Linked DNA regions of Homo sapiens: regions 1 and 3 are each linked to region 2. The links are contacts of gene promoters, found by promoter capture Hi-C in blood cells and fetal thymus (Javierre and others, 2016). All regions are on one chromosome and are shown on one strand. Each heading gives the region's core, a stretch centred on a gene start or on the middle of the fragment in contact. The rest is flanking DNA. Distances are from core to core; before and after follow the strand shown. Region 1 overlaps LSM14A (LSM14A mRNA processing body assembly factor). Region 2 holds the start of UBA2 (ubiquitin like modifier activating enzyme 2). Region 3 overlaps LSM14A (LSM14A mRNA processing body assembly factor).

Region 1 (4,091 bases), core at 1,460-3,959, 210 kb after region 2:
AGGAGAGAAGGAAGATGATGAGATCAGTCTGAGGAAGGTTAAGCTGACAGCAAACAGTGCAGATAGAGATGCGGTGCAGAAACACATAGGGTCCAGGACAGGCTTACAAAAGGGAGGATGGAACAAGCACCATGGCACACCTATAAACCCAGCACTTTGGGAAGCTGAGGTGAGAGGATCGCTTAAGCCCAGGAGTTCAAGACCAGCCTGGACAACATAGTGAGAGTGGGACCCAGTGTCTACAAAAAAAATTAAAAATTAGCTGGGCATGGTGGTGCATGCCTGTAGTCCCAGCTACATAGGAGGCTGAGGTGGGAGGACTGCCTGAGCCTGGGAGGTTGAGGCTGCAGTGACTTATGATCATGCCATTGCACTCCAGTCTGGGTGACACAGCAAGACCCTGACACCCTCCACCCCCCAAAAAAAAGAATGAAGAGTATTAAAAAATTAGGAAGAGTATAAATTGAAAACCTAGAAGAGTATTTTAAAGACTAGGAAGAAAGACCCCAAATTGGGTGGTTGGTCAGTGTCAAATATTGCAGAGGAGTTAATGGCAAATAAAATATTTGTGAAAATACTACTGCTGAATTCTGTAAGCAAGGTGTCACTGGCAAACTTAAGGGCAGTAACAGTGATAAGCGAGGGCTATTCTGGAGTTCCTAAGACAGATTCTCCTAGCTGGGAAGGTGATTTTGCAAGTCAGAAGTCCCGCAACTACATAAGGCCACCAACGGCTGGATGGCATAAGCTGGTGACTTGAGTATAATTTTTGGCAGTCTTGGCTGTGATGGCACAATATCAAAAGCATTAAAATTAATAGAGCAGGTCCAAAAGCCACTAATACTGATCTCTTTCCAGAGAGATCTCAACAATGGCCAGTTTTAAGTACTGGGCAATGGAACTCCTGCTAACAGGTCTTTCTGTTTCCAGCTGCCTGTTGCTATTACAAGTGGAACTCTTTACAAGATTTTGGTCCTTTCTGTTATAGCCCTTCCTCTCCACTACTTCTAAAATCAATAAACTAAGATAGTTTACTGTTAACTGAGATAGTTACTATGCTGACTTAATTTACAGACACCTGTCAAAAGCTACATTATACACATAAGGCTACTATACAGAGTTACAGAATTCTCTAGCAGTAGCTCCTGAAGGCCAATATATCGAAACATTTTCAATTTCATGGTGAAAGGAGAAAACCAGGGAAAATGTAGTGAATTTTCAACAAAACCAAATTAAGAGTACTGACTCAGGAAACAACTTGCTGGGCTCAACACCCAGCACCATCACTTACTAGCTATGTGACCTTTCGCAAGTTACTTAATATCTCTATACCCATTTCCTCACTTGTAAAATGGGGATAATAATAGAACCTACCTCACAGAGTTGATGTGCAGTTTAAATAAGTTAATATGTAAAAAAATATTTAAAACAATGTCTTGTTACTTGGTAAATACTATATAAATGTTAACTGCTATTAAATGTTAAAGCTTGCCCTTCCATTCTGGGAGTATGTGCTTCCTAGATAGACTCTTTGGGTGTTAAAAGTATATTCTGTTAACATGAAATAAAGGTGATACTATACTGTCTTTTTTTGTATAATGTCTTTATATATACATCTGAATCACGTATATCCTCTACTGAAAAGTCAAAATGGAAGTTATTCTAATGTCCTCAAAACAATTCACCCAAAACAAAAACAAGTAAAAATGTTTTGAGTCTTGTAAAATGCATGTCAACCCCAAAGAATTTATTAACAGTAACACTTACCCTATATTCAAAATCCGCAAACTCCCGGCCCCCACGACCTCCTCTGAATCCACCGCGAAATCCTCGAGGGGCAGTGAAGGTACCACCTCTGCCACCACCACGCCCTCTGCCACCACGGAAACCAAGACCTCCTCTGCCTCTGTATCCCCCACGGCCACGGTTTGGACGAAGTGGGATTCCAAATGTTTCAGCATTTAATCTTCTTTCTTCAGCCCAGGTTGGTCTCCGTTCTCTATTATAAAAGCAAATAATCTTCAGCATATCAGGTTTAAAAGAATATCCCTCAGCCAAAATATGCAGTGCTACTCCCAAATTAAGCCTAAGTAATTACTAAAGCTAATTAGAAATAAGCATCTTGGCTAGGCGTGATGGCTCACGCCTGTAATCCCAGCACTTTGGGAGGCCGAGGGGGCGGATCGCCTGAAGTCAGGAGTTCGAGACTAGCCTGGCCAAAATGGTGAAACTCATTCTCTACCAAAAATACAAAAAATAGCTGGGCATGGTGGCAGGTGCCTGTAATCCCAGCTACTTGGGGGGTTGAGGCAGGAGAATCACCTGAACCTGGGAGGTGGAGGTTGCAGTGAGTCGAGATCGAGCCACTGCACTACAGTCTGGGTGACAAGAGCGAAACTCCATCTCAAAAAAAAAAAAAAAAAAGCATCTTATCTAAGTTATCACGAGTTGTTCATGGCATATGAGTTCAATATGTTCCTGTAATATTCTGTTAAACTTCATGTGAACACATGACTGACATTAGTTTCTTGCAAATACACCTGATAAACATAGTAACAGCTCCAAAATAATGGAAATTCAGATATAATGAGATTGGTAATTGACTTCGCTTTCCACTCAGCCCCAAGGGAAAAGAAGGTAAAGTCAGACAGGGAGGCCTTGTCTTGGGAAGCTAGGAGATGGAAGGTGGGCCCTTAGGTCCCCATTATGTTCCTGGCCCAATCTATGGACCCGATACCAAGTAACCCAAGAAGTATCTGAATTATTGCTGCTGTCATCCAGCCAATCGTGGGACTCAGAATTATGTCCATCCATGTTTATATTGAAGCAAACAACTGCCACCAGAGGGCACCAAACTTCAGCCAGGAAAAGGACAAGGACAATGACAATTTGGATTGGGCAGGAGAACCTCTAGAACTGTTAGTTCCTCACACTGGGTCCTTTAATTAACCTCTCAATAATTTGCCAATTTTCTGGACCCACATTTACTACAATCTGGCAGTTTTATGGTACCAGCAAACTTCAAAGTAGATTAGCACTTCGGTTCTGGCTTCATTTGAACTGTAACATACAGGGGTGAAAAAAAGGTCCTACTTAGACATTACCTAAATGCTTGTTTTAATTGCTAATATTCAAATATGAATATATCCTTAAACAAAAGTATATGGTTATTTCTTCTTTTGAATGAATAATTTAGAACTTTAGTATATATTTTCTTTTAGCAAATAAAACATTAAAAAATCAATTATGGCCAGGTGTGGTGGCTCACGCCTGTAATCCTAGTACTTTGGGAGGCTGATCTTGAGGCCAGGAGTTCACGATTAGCCTGGGCAACATAGCGAGACCCCCATCTCTACAAAAAAATGAAAAAAATTAGCCGGGTGGGGTGGTGTACAACTGTAGTCCCCTTTACTGAGGCTGAGATGGGAGGATTGCTTGAGGTCAGGAGCTTGAGACTACAGTGAGCTGTGACTGCACTGCTGCTCTCCAGCCTGAGTAACAGAGTAAGACTGTCTCAAAACAAAACAAAACAATTATGGTAGTATTCATTAAACCTCGTGAATTTACATGAAACCATTTTACACTTCAATCAATATCATAAGATAAAAGAACAGCTTAAAAACTGTACCTATTGTCATCACAAGAAATATTATCAAAGAAGGATTTAGTTTTGTCATAATAGCAATTAGGTCCAAGTGGATCTTCTTCATCGGCATTTCCTTCACTGTTTTGGGTATCAACTCCTGAGTCTCCTTTATCTTCACCATTTACAGGCTTCTCCTGTTTCTCAAGTTTATCTTCTAAGAACAAAAGCACATATCAGAAAAGTCAAGACAGCTAATCTGAATTACATAAAAACACCTAATCTGAGAAACATCTGTAATTCACAGATCAAATAAGATTATTTTCTGAAAAGAAAAATCAAAGCTTACCTTTTAATTTAAGTTTATTATGAAACTCTCTGTCAATCTCTTCCTTGTTGAATTGTGCATTTGCACTTTCAAAGTCAAAGTCTTTCTCAAATTTCATTGGCCCATCTCGCCGAATACCAAATCTTCCCCTGCCACCCCGATGACCCCCACGCCCTCTCC
Region 2 (3,849 bases), core at 73-2,572:
CACCACGCCCCGCTAATTTTCTTTTTTTGTAGAGACGGGGTTTCTCTATGTTGCCCAGGTTCTGTTCTTTTTCTTAAATGATACATGGCAAACGTTTATTGAATTTTTGCTGCCTCCCTTAATTCAAGCCTTCATCCATACACAATTTCATTTACTATTAACCTGAGAACTGTGAAAGGAAACTTTTACACATGGTTAAAAAAGTATCATGTTTTAAGTTTTATCTAATTTTTGCTTAAATATATAATACATAAAGGAAAGAAACAATGACTCAGTCGGCCACCCGTACTTTTTTGTTCATTCCATGTTTCCACTAGCCCTTAAGACACTTTAAACTCACACCGAAGGGCCAGTAACATCTCCAATCTCTAAAAAGTTTGCATTAGTAGAAATAACGATTCAAAATAGCACTGGCTTGTCAACGTACACCAATGCAAAAGGCACAGTCCTAACGTCTTTAATGAAACAAGCGAGTGTACCGTCTACTGTGAGAGCAATGACAGTCACGCAGCCTGCGGGAGCCCTGCCACTCGCTCCGTGACCCAGGGTAAGTTACTCAACCCCATTGCGTCTCCCTTTCCTCATCTGTTAAAAATAAAGCAGGGTGGAAATAGCGTTTGCACTCCTCGGGTGGTATGAAGATGGTGCGCGTTCCGTGTGTAAACCCGCTCGTGACCAGCGCTCGGGACGCGTTGGTCGCTATCATTGCCATCCTCCGCCCCGCGTCGTTACTTCGGAGTTACGACAGGGACCTCAAAATTAAAGTCACAACATCCGCGAGGGACTCAATCCTCTCCCGCATCTCCTAACAGCCGGGAATTTGTTTTGAAGGGAGGATAAGAGGCGGCTTCACGCCCACGAAGCGCCACACATTGGCGCTGCCGGGGAGGCGGGGGCCCGCGGCCTCCTCGGCGTCCGGAGCCGGCCCAGCGAGCGGAGGCCCGCCCCGTGCCCAAAGAACAGTCTCCTCCCGCGGGGGGGGCACAACCCGAGCCTCTCAGCCTGCCCCCGCTCCGCAACTCCGGTCCCGGGCTCCGGGCCCTGAGCCTCAGAGCCCCTGGAGCCCCGGAACCCCCGAATCCCAGCCCCCGCACCACAGCCCGCCATTCACGCGCGCGCGCCCGGCCCTCACCAGGTCGATGTGGGAGAAACCGGTGAGCACGAGATTCTTGAGGAGCTCGCAGCCGATGCCGCCCGCCCCCACCACCAGCACCCGGCCCCCGGCCACCGCCTCAGCCAGCTCCCGGGGCAGCCCCCGCGACAGTGCCATGGCGGGACAACCACGAGCCGCGGCGGAGGCGGAGGCGGGAGAACCGAGCCGCGGCCGGAAGCGGGTGGGGGAAGGGCGGCCTGGTTTCCGCTCCTGCGCACTACAGCCTCCGGCAGACACAGGCAGGGCACATCGCGCCGGGGTGTGCTGCAGCCCGCGGGGACCGGCAGGCTCTTGCAAAGGGCTGGCGACCTCCAGCTGAGACCGGCGGTGTTATTCCCACACCAGCATAGGCCCGCCATCAGACCTAAAAAGTCTAAGGGTCGCCTTCTAGCCTGGGGTTTCAACTCCCAGCCAAGACTTCCTTACAGGTTAGAAAACTGATGTCCCTATACGTAAAGAGCTCTTACAAATTAACAAGTGTCACCCCCAAAAAAATATAGGCAAAGGATGTGAACAGGAAACTCACAAAAAATTGGACAATATGATCAATAAGCGTATTAAAATGTAAACCATAAAAGAATCGCTTGAACCCTGGAGGTGGAGGTTGCAGTGAACCAAGATCGCACCACTTCACTCCAGGCTGGGTAACAGAGCAAGACTCCGTCTCAAAAAAGAAAAAAATGTAAACCATGCAAAATGGTAAGATTTTCACCTGCCGGGCGCGGTGGCTTACGCCTGTAATCCCAGCACTTTGGGAGGCCGAGGCGGGTGGATCACGAGGTCAGGAGTTCTGAAACCAGCCTGACTAACATGGTGAAACCCCCATCTCTACTAAAAATACAAAAATTAGCCGGGCGTGGTGGCGTGCGCCTGTAATCCCAGCTACTCGGGAGGCTGAGGCAGGAGAATCGTTTGAACCCAGGAGGCAGAGGTTGCAGTGAGCCGAGATCGCGCCACTGCACTCCAGCCTGGGCAACAGACTCCGTCTCAAAAAAACAAACAAACAAACAAACAAAAAAAAACACCGAAACAGCTGGGGGTGGTGGCACAAGCCTGTAGCCCCAGCTACTCAGGAGGCTGAGGCAGGAGAATTGCTTGAACCCAGGAGGCGGAGGTTGCACCACTGCACTCCAGCCTGAGCAATACAGCGAGACTCTGTCTCAAAAAAAAAAAAAAGTTTTTCACCTACTAAACTGGTAGAAAGAAAAAATAAGTAACACTTATCAAGGGATTGGGAAACAAGCACTCCAACACACTCCAGGTAAAGATTCCAAAGCAAAGCTTCTCTAGAGGGCGTGGTGGCTTGCACCTGTAGTCCCAGCTACTCAGGAGGCTGAGGCAGGAGGATCACTTAAGCCTGAGAGGTCGAGGCTGCAGTGAGCTATGCCCTTACCACTGCACTCCAGCCTGAGAGACAGAGCAAGACCCTGTCTCGAAAAAAAAGAAAAAAAAACCCTAAAATTGTGCACAACTTTTGACTCATTCATTCCAATTCTAGGAAACTGTCCTGTAGCAGTTATCATTGATTTAAAATATATATAAATTTAGTTACAGGGATGGCCATCATGGGAATAAAAATTGGAAAATACAAGTGGCTAAAAATTGTATAAAGCTTTTGATGTATATTTAAAAAATAGAGCAATTATAAATTATGTTGTGGGAAAAATATTAATGGGAAAATGCTCCAAATATAATGTTAAATGCAAGAAACAAGCCCACCCCATGATCACCTAGGCCTCATTATCCTCATCTACGTAGGCAGAGCATGTCTGAACATGGCTGGGAGTGTTTTTATACTGCTGTTATGGGGCTGAAGGGAAGGGGTTGATCATGTTAAAAATAAAGAAAGGGGAAGACTGGAAGGCAGCTGGATAAAGGGACAGTCTCCAGAACGGAGTAAAGACCCCTTCCTGGGATACTGCAGGAGCAGAAGATGGGAGTGGGTGAGGGCGGGGACCTGGGCTGATGAACATGGGCAGGTCTAAACAGCCAGGGTCACAGAGCAAAAACCTCCAGCAGCTAGAGCAGGTTCAGTGGCTTGATCAGGTGCCAGAAACAGCATAGGAAGCACTGGAGTGCACGTGTCAGAGGTGTACACAAGAGGCTGACCACTGCTCTTGGCTCTTTCGCTGCTCTCCTCCCCCCTAGAATGCCCACCAGAACGGCTGTGCAGACAACACCAGCCCTCTGGACTAGAGAGGAGCTACCTTCCTAGCTGCCACTGTGACAGCTGGCCCTGGACCCTGGAAGGGCAGACCAACCCACAGTCAGGAGGTCCTGGCCCGGCCCCGGCCCCGGCACCAGCACCCAAAGGCAAAAAGGCAACTCAGAAAAACAGAGGTTAATAACTTGTGAGTTAAAATAAGGTACATACAAACATATTTGGATGTAAACATTTGTTTTAATTTATATTAATAAAAGGAAATGCTCTACTTAAACAATAATTCATCTGGGTCTTCTTGTATAATACAAAATTCTTCCATGGGAGTCTGATGATTTGGGGGCCAGCAACTCTTCTCACATGTGTAAACTAGAATTGTTCCAAATTCCACAGAAAGACCTGAAAAATACCACATATTCAGGCTTCCAGCAAAAAGAGTTATGAGACTGATGTTACTAAAAGGAATGATTTTACCTTATAAGCTGAAAAAGTAATTAGGTAAAGCAAAAACAGTGCTTACTGCTTTCAGCTATAA
Region 3 (4,046 bases), core at 335-2,834, 250 kb after region 2:
TTTCCAAGGCTCCAAGTACTGGCAACATCACTAAATAGGGCAACAAAAAGAAACTGTGGCTTGAAGTTTCACTAGATCTTTGTCATTTTAGATAGTAATTTTGTGAATTGCTAGATTTAGATCCCCAAGTAATGCAAGAAATCAAATAAAGCACCCCGCAAGTATTTTATCCATCACACAAAGCTCTTCCACTCTCTCCAATAAGGTAATAGTTTATGACTATGTGACTAACATCAAGAAGTAGATAAATTATGCCAATGAGCCAGACTTAGCAGATGATTAAAGAAATCTGTTAACAATTTACTTGTTTTTCTATTCTTCCACCAATCTCTTGATTTTAAGAACAACTTATTTTAAAGGCAAGTGGCTTATATAATCGTTCTTCATAAAGTCTCTTTTCCCAGTGCAGTAGCAACCTGGTTTCCATTTGAATGATTATCCAGGTAAGCTAACTAAATGTAAGAATTTATTTTTTATAAGAATTTCATTCATTTTAGCCTATTTAGGCATCCTACTCACTTATAGACGTAGGTGCAAACACAACTGGAACTATTCCATAAAATATTCATACATGTCACCACTGTGTAATTTCTTCCTACACCCTGAATGGAGGCTTCCTTTAAACTTTAAATGAAAATTATAATTGAGCTTGAGTCACAAAGAGTTTACCTCCCCAATAATGTTAATTATGTCACTAGATTTCATCCTCTTGCATCCCTACTCACTGAAATTCTTCAAGATTTCTTAATGTGAGGCAGGATAATTTAATTTTATAGGGAAATGCAATTGTGAACATGGAAAAGCATTATTTGGAGGTATACCCAAGATACTTCTACAAGAACAATAAGCTAAAATGCTAAATCATTTCCATTTACTCACTAACTAAACAACCTTTCATACCAGGAGCTCAGAGTCTGGAGGTGAAGGGGAAGGTGAAGACAGACAATAAACACATATGCAAATAAGCAAAGAAGATTAAGTGTAAGTCATGATCAGTGCTGAGAAGAAAATAAATTCAGAGCTGTGACACAGACTACAAACTGCAACAAACTGCAGAAACAAACTGCAACACAGATCATCTATAAACATACATAGCAGATTGACATCAAAGCCTTTCTAGGTTGCCTTTATGACTTCTTGACATATGCTTAGGTTCCGAGGATCAAAGCCCCTCAAACTTACCTGTTTCACTTTCTAGAACTAAAGCTAGTCTGTGACATCTCTAGCAGAAAATAAGGCACATCGACCATTTCACAGCACCTCTGCAATTAGGCTTTTGATTATGTGGTGTGATAACTTATCCACACTGAAACATTTTCAAAAGAGAAAACAGATTATTATTATTATTTTGTGTTTTTTTTTTTTTTGAGACAGAGTCTCGCTCTGTTGCCCAGGCTAGAGTACAGTGGTGTGATCTTGGCTCACTCTAACCTCCGCCTTTCAGGTTCAAGCAATTCTCCTGCCTCAGCCTCTCAAGTAGCTGGGATTACAGACATGCACCAGCACGCCCAGATAATTTTTGTATTTTTAGTAGAGACGGGGTTTCGCCATGTTGGCCAGACTGGTCTCGAGCTTCTGACTTCAGGTGATTCGCCTGCCTCAGCTTCCTGAAGTGCTGGGATTACAGGCTATCATTGTTATTTTTTAAGACAAGGTCTTGTTCTATGTTTCAGGCTGGAGTGCAGTGGCATGATCACAGCTCCTCTTGGGCTCAAGCAATCCCCCTGCCTCAGCCTCCCAAGTGGCTGGGACGACAGACATGCATGCCACCATGCTTGGCTAATGCACTTTTTAAAATTTTTTGTAGAAATGGAGTCTCCCTGTATTGCCGAGGCTGGTTTTGAACTCCTGGGCTCAAGCAATACCCCGGCCTTGACCTTTTGGAAATGTTGGGATTACAGGCCTGAGTCACCCTGCCCAGCCGGGATGTTTTTAATAATTATGCCAGAGCAGGCACAAACAAGGACTTTCCACCAGGGCAAACTAGGCCATATGGTTACCCTAATTATATACCACATCAAATGTAAATAGCCAAAAATTTCAAGAGTAGTTTATAGTTCCAGATATATTTAAATTATAATATCCAAGCCCTAAATTATAATATGGACAATATAAACCAAGTGAATCCCTTACTAAATATAAAGCTCTGAATATCTCACATTGTACACAAAATCAATTTCAGATGCATTATAAACGTCAATGTGAAAAAGCAAAGCACAAAAAGGTTTAAAGATAATCAAAGTATCTCTATGATGTTTTAAAAAAAGAAACACTAGCCATAAAAAACTGATGAACATGTTTACATTAAAATGAAGAACTTCTGTTAATTTAAAGAAACTACTAAATGGAAAAAATGTTTGCAATATATACATCCAACAATGGAGATATATTCAGAATACAGAACTCTAGAAAAAGACGTGTTTCGATTTAAAAAAGGAAAAGATTTCAAAGGCATTTTATGAAAAATGAAATCCAAACACCCAGATATGAAAAGCTGGTCAGCCCCATTTAGTAATGAGGGAAATGATTAAAACTAAATACAACTACATACCCACCAGGATTGGCTAGAATTGAAATATATGATACCACGTACGGTTGTTGGTAAGGGATATGAAACAAGAACTCTTACATACTAATAAATGAAGTAAAAACCACTAAACAACTACTTTGAAAAACTACCTGGCATTACCTGATAAAGACCAACATTCCCCATGTTCTTGCAATTCAAATTCTAAGTATATAATCTCAAGAAAACGAAATAAACATGCACCAGTGCACTTAAACAGAAATGTTCATAAAAGCATTGTTTATAATAGCCCCAAACTGCAAACAATCTAAATGCAATATCCAAAACAATGGCAGAAGGAATAAACTTGTGTTATATTCATGATGGAATATTATGAAACAATAAAAGCTAAAAATAAAATATATACAACACAATCCTATTTACATAAAGTTAAAAATGGGCAAAATTAAACTCTATTATTTAGAGATGTAAACTTATATGGTAAAACTATAAATGTCAGAAGAACATTTATATCTAGCTTAAATTAAGATGGTGATAGTTGTGATGGGAAAATATAGGTGGTGGGAGGCTTCTGGGATGCTGGCAATGTCTGTCTTGCCCTGGGTGGTGGTTACAAAGATGTTTGTTTAAAAATATTTCATTTTTATCTTATGTATCTTTTCAGCCTGTGTAGTTAGGTTTCCCAATAACACTCTCCCTGAGAAATTAAAAAAAAAAAAGTTCAAAAGAGAATGCTAAGACTGTTACTCAAAGAGATTAACTCTTAATCCATAGTTTAAAAACAGTAACAGGGATCTCTACATCCAAATACACACTGTATTATAAATTCCATGAATAAACTTTTGGCTTCAGGCCGGGTGCAGTGCCTCACACCTGTAATCCCAGCACTTTGGGAGGCCAAGGTGGGTGGATCATCTGAGGTCAGGAGTTTGAGACCAGCCTGGCCAACATGGTGAAACCCCGTCTCTACTCAAAATACAAAAATTAGCCAGCTGTGTTGGGCGCCTGTAGTCCCAGCTACTCGGAAGGCTGTGGCAGAACTGCTTGAACCCGGGAGGTGGAGGCTGCAGCGAGCCAAGATCGCACCACTGCACTCCAGCCTGGGCAAGAGCAAGACTCTGTCTCAAAACAACAACAAAAAAAAACGAAAACAAAACAAAACAAACACTTTTGGCTTTAATCTTTTAGACTACCATTCTTCGTTCAAATTTTGAAATGGAAGGTGAAATTTTCTGATATCGAATTACTCAACAAGTCATGTAAATTTTAAAATTTTAAGATTGAACTCCTTGCTTCTAATCTTGAAATCTGAAATGTGTCCAGTATTGACTAGACAGTTATAATGTAGTTTTCGATTAGATAATATCATGTAGACTAATATATAAAGGTTTGATAATGTCAGTTTTTGCGAACATAATCAAATTCCCCAAACTGGTTACACATTTAACTCATGTTGCTTAAGAAAAAGCAGCCGGGTGCGGTGGCTCATGCCTGTAATCCCGGCATTCTGGGAGGCTGA

Evidence for each region. Contacts are between HindIII fragments. The CHiCAGO score rates a contact against its expected background, and 5 or more counts as called.
Region 1: a contact is called between a fragment that was not itself captured here and the fragment with the promoter of UBA2 in region 2, in 5 of 17 cell types (naive CD4 T cells, naive CD8 T cells, non-activated CD4 T cells and 2 more). The highest score is 6.5, in naive CD4 T cells.
Region 3: a fragment that was not itself captured here is called in contact with the fragment with the promoter of UBA2 in region 2 in 2 of 17 cell types (fetal thymus and non-activated CD4 T cells); the score reaches 8.3 in fetal thymus.

What each region holds. Positions count from the first base shown.
Region 1 is chr19:34,219,415-34,223,505 of GRCh38, reverse strand. It overlaps LSM14A (LSM14A mRNA processing body assembly factor), which reads right to left. Exons shown (of 10, transcript NM_015578.4): 7 at 3,933-4,091; 8 at 3,629-3,800; 9 at 1,768-1,999. Among named protein-coding and RNA genes, the nearest start is that of GARRE1, 33 kb to the left of the region's middle. The HindIII fragment of the contact is 2,440 bases long and covers 1,490-3,929 here.
Region 2 is chr19:34,425,854-34,429,702 of GRCh38, reverse strand. UBA2 (ubiquitin like modifier activating enzyme 2) reads right to left here and starts at 1,322. Exons shown (of 17, transcript NM_005499.3): 1 at 1,133-1,322. The coding sequence starts at 1,270. LOC124904695 (a long non-coding RNA gene) reads left to right here and starts at 1,339. Exons shown (of 2, transcript XR_007067232.1): 1 at 1,339-1,581; 2 at 3,302-3,597. It overlaps PDCD2L (programmed cell death 2 like), which reads right to left. Exons shown (of 7, transcript NM_032346.2): 7 at 3,535-3,713. The coding sequence ends at 3,583. RefSeq lists silencers at 825-984, 1,055-1,164, 1,195-1,434. The HindIII fragment of the contact is 4,339 bases long and covers 1-2,436 here.
Region 3 is chr19:34,175,482-34,179,527 of GRCh38, reverse strand. The region is part of intron 1 of LSM14A (LSM14A mRNA processing body assembly factor); the gene reads right to left. Among named protein-coding and RNA genes, the nearest start is that of LSM14A, 5.0 kb to the right of the region's middle. The HindIII fragment of the contact is 8,937 bases long and covers 1-4,046 here.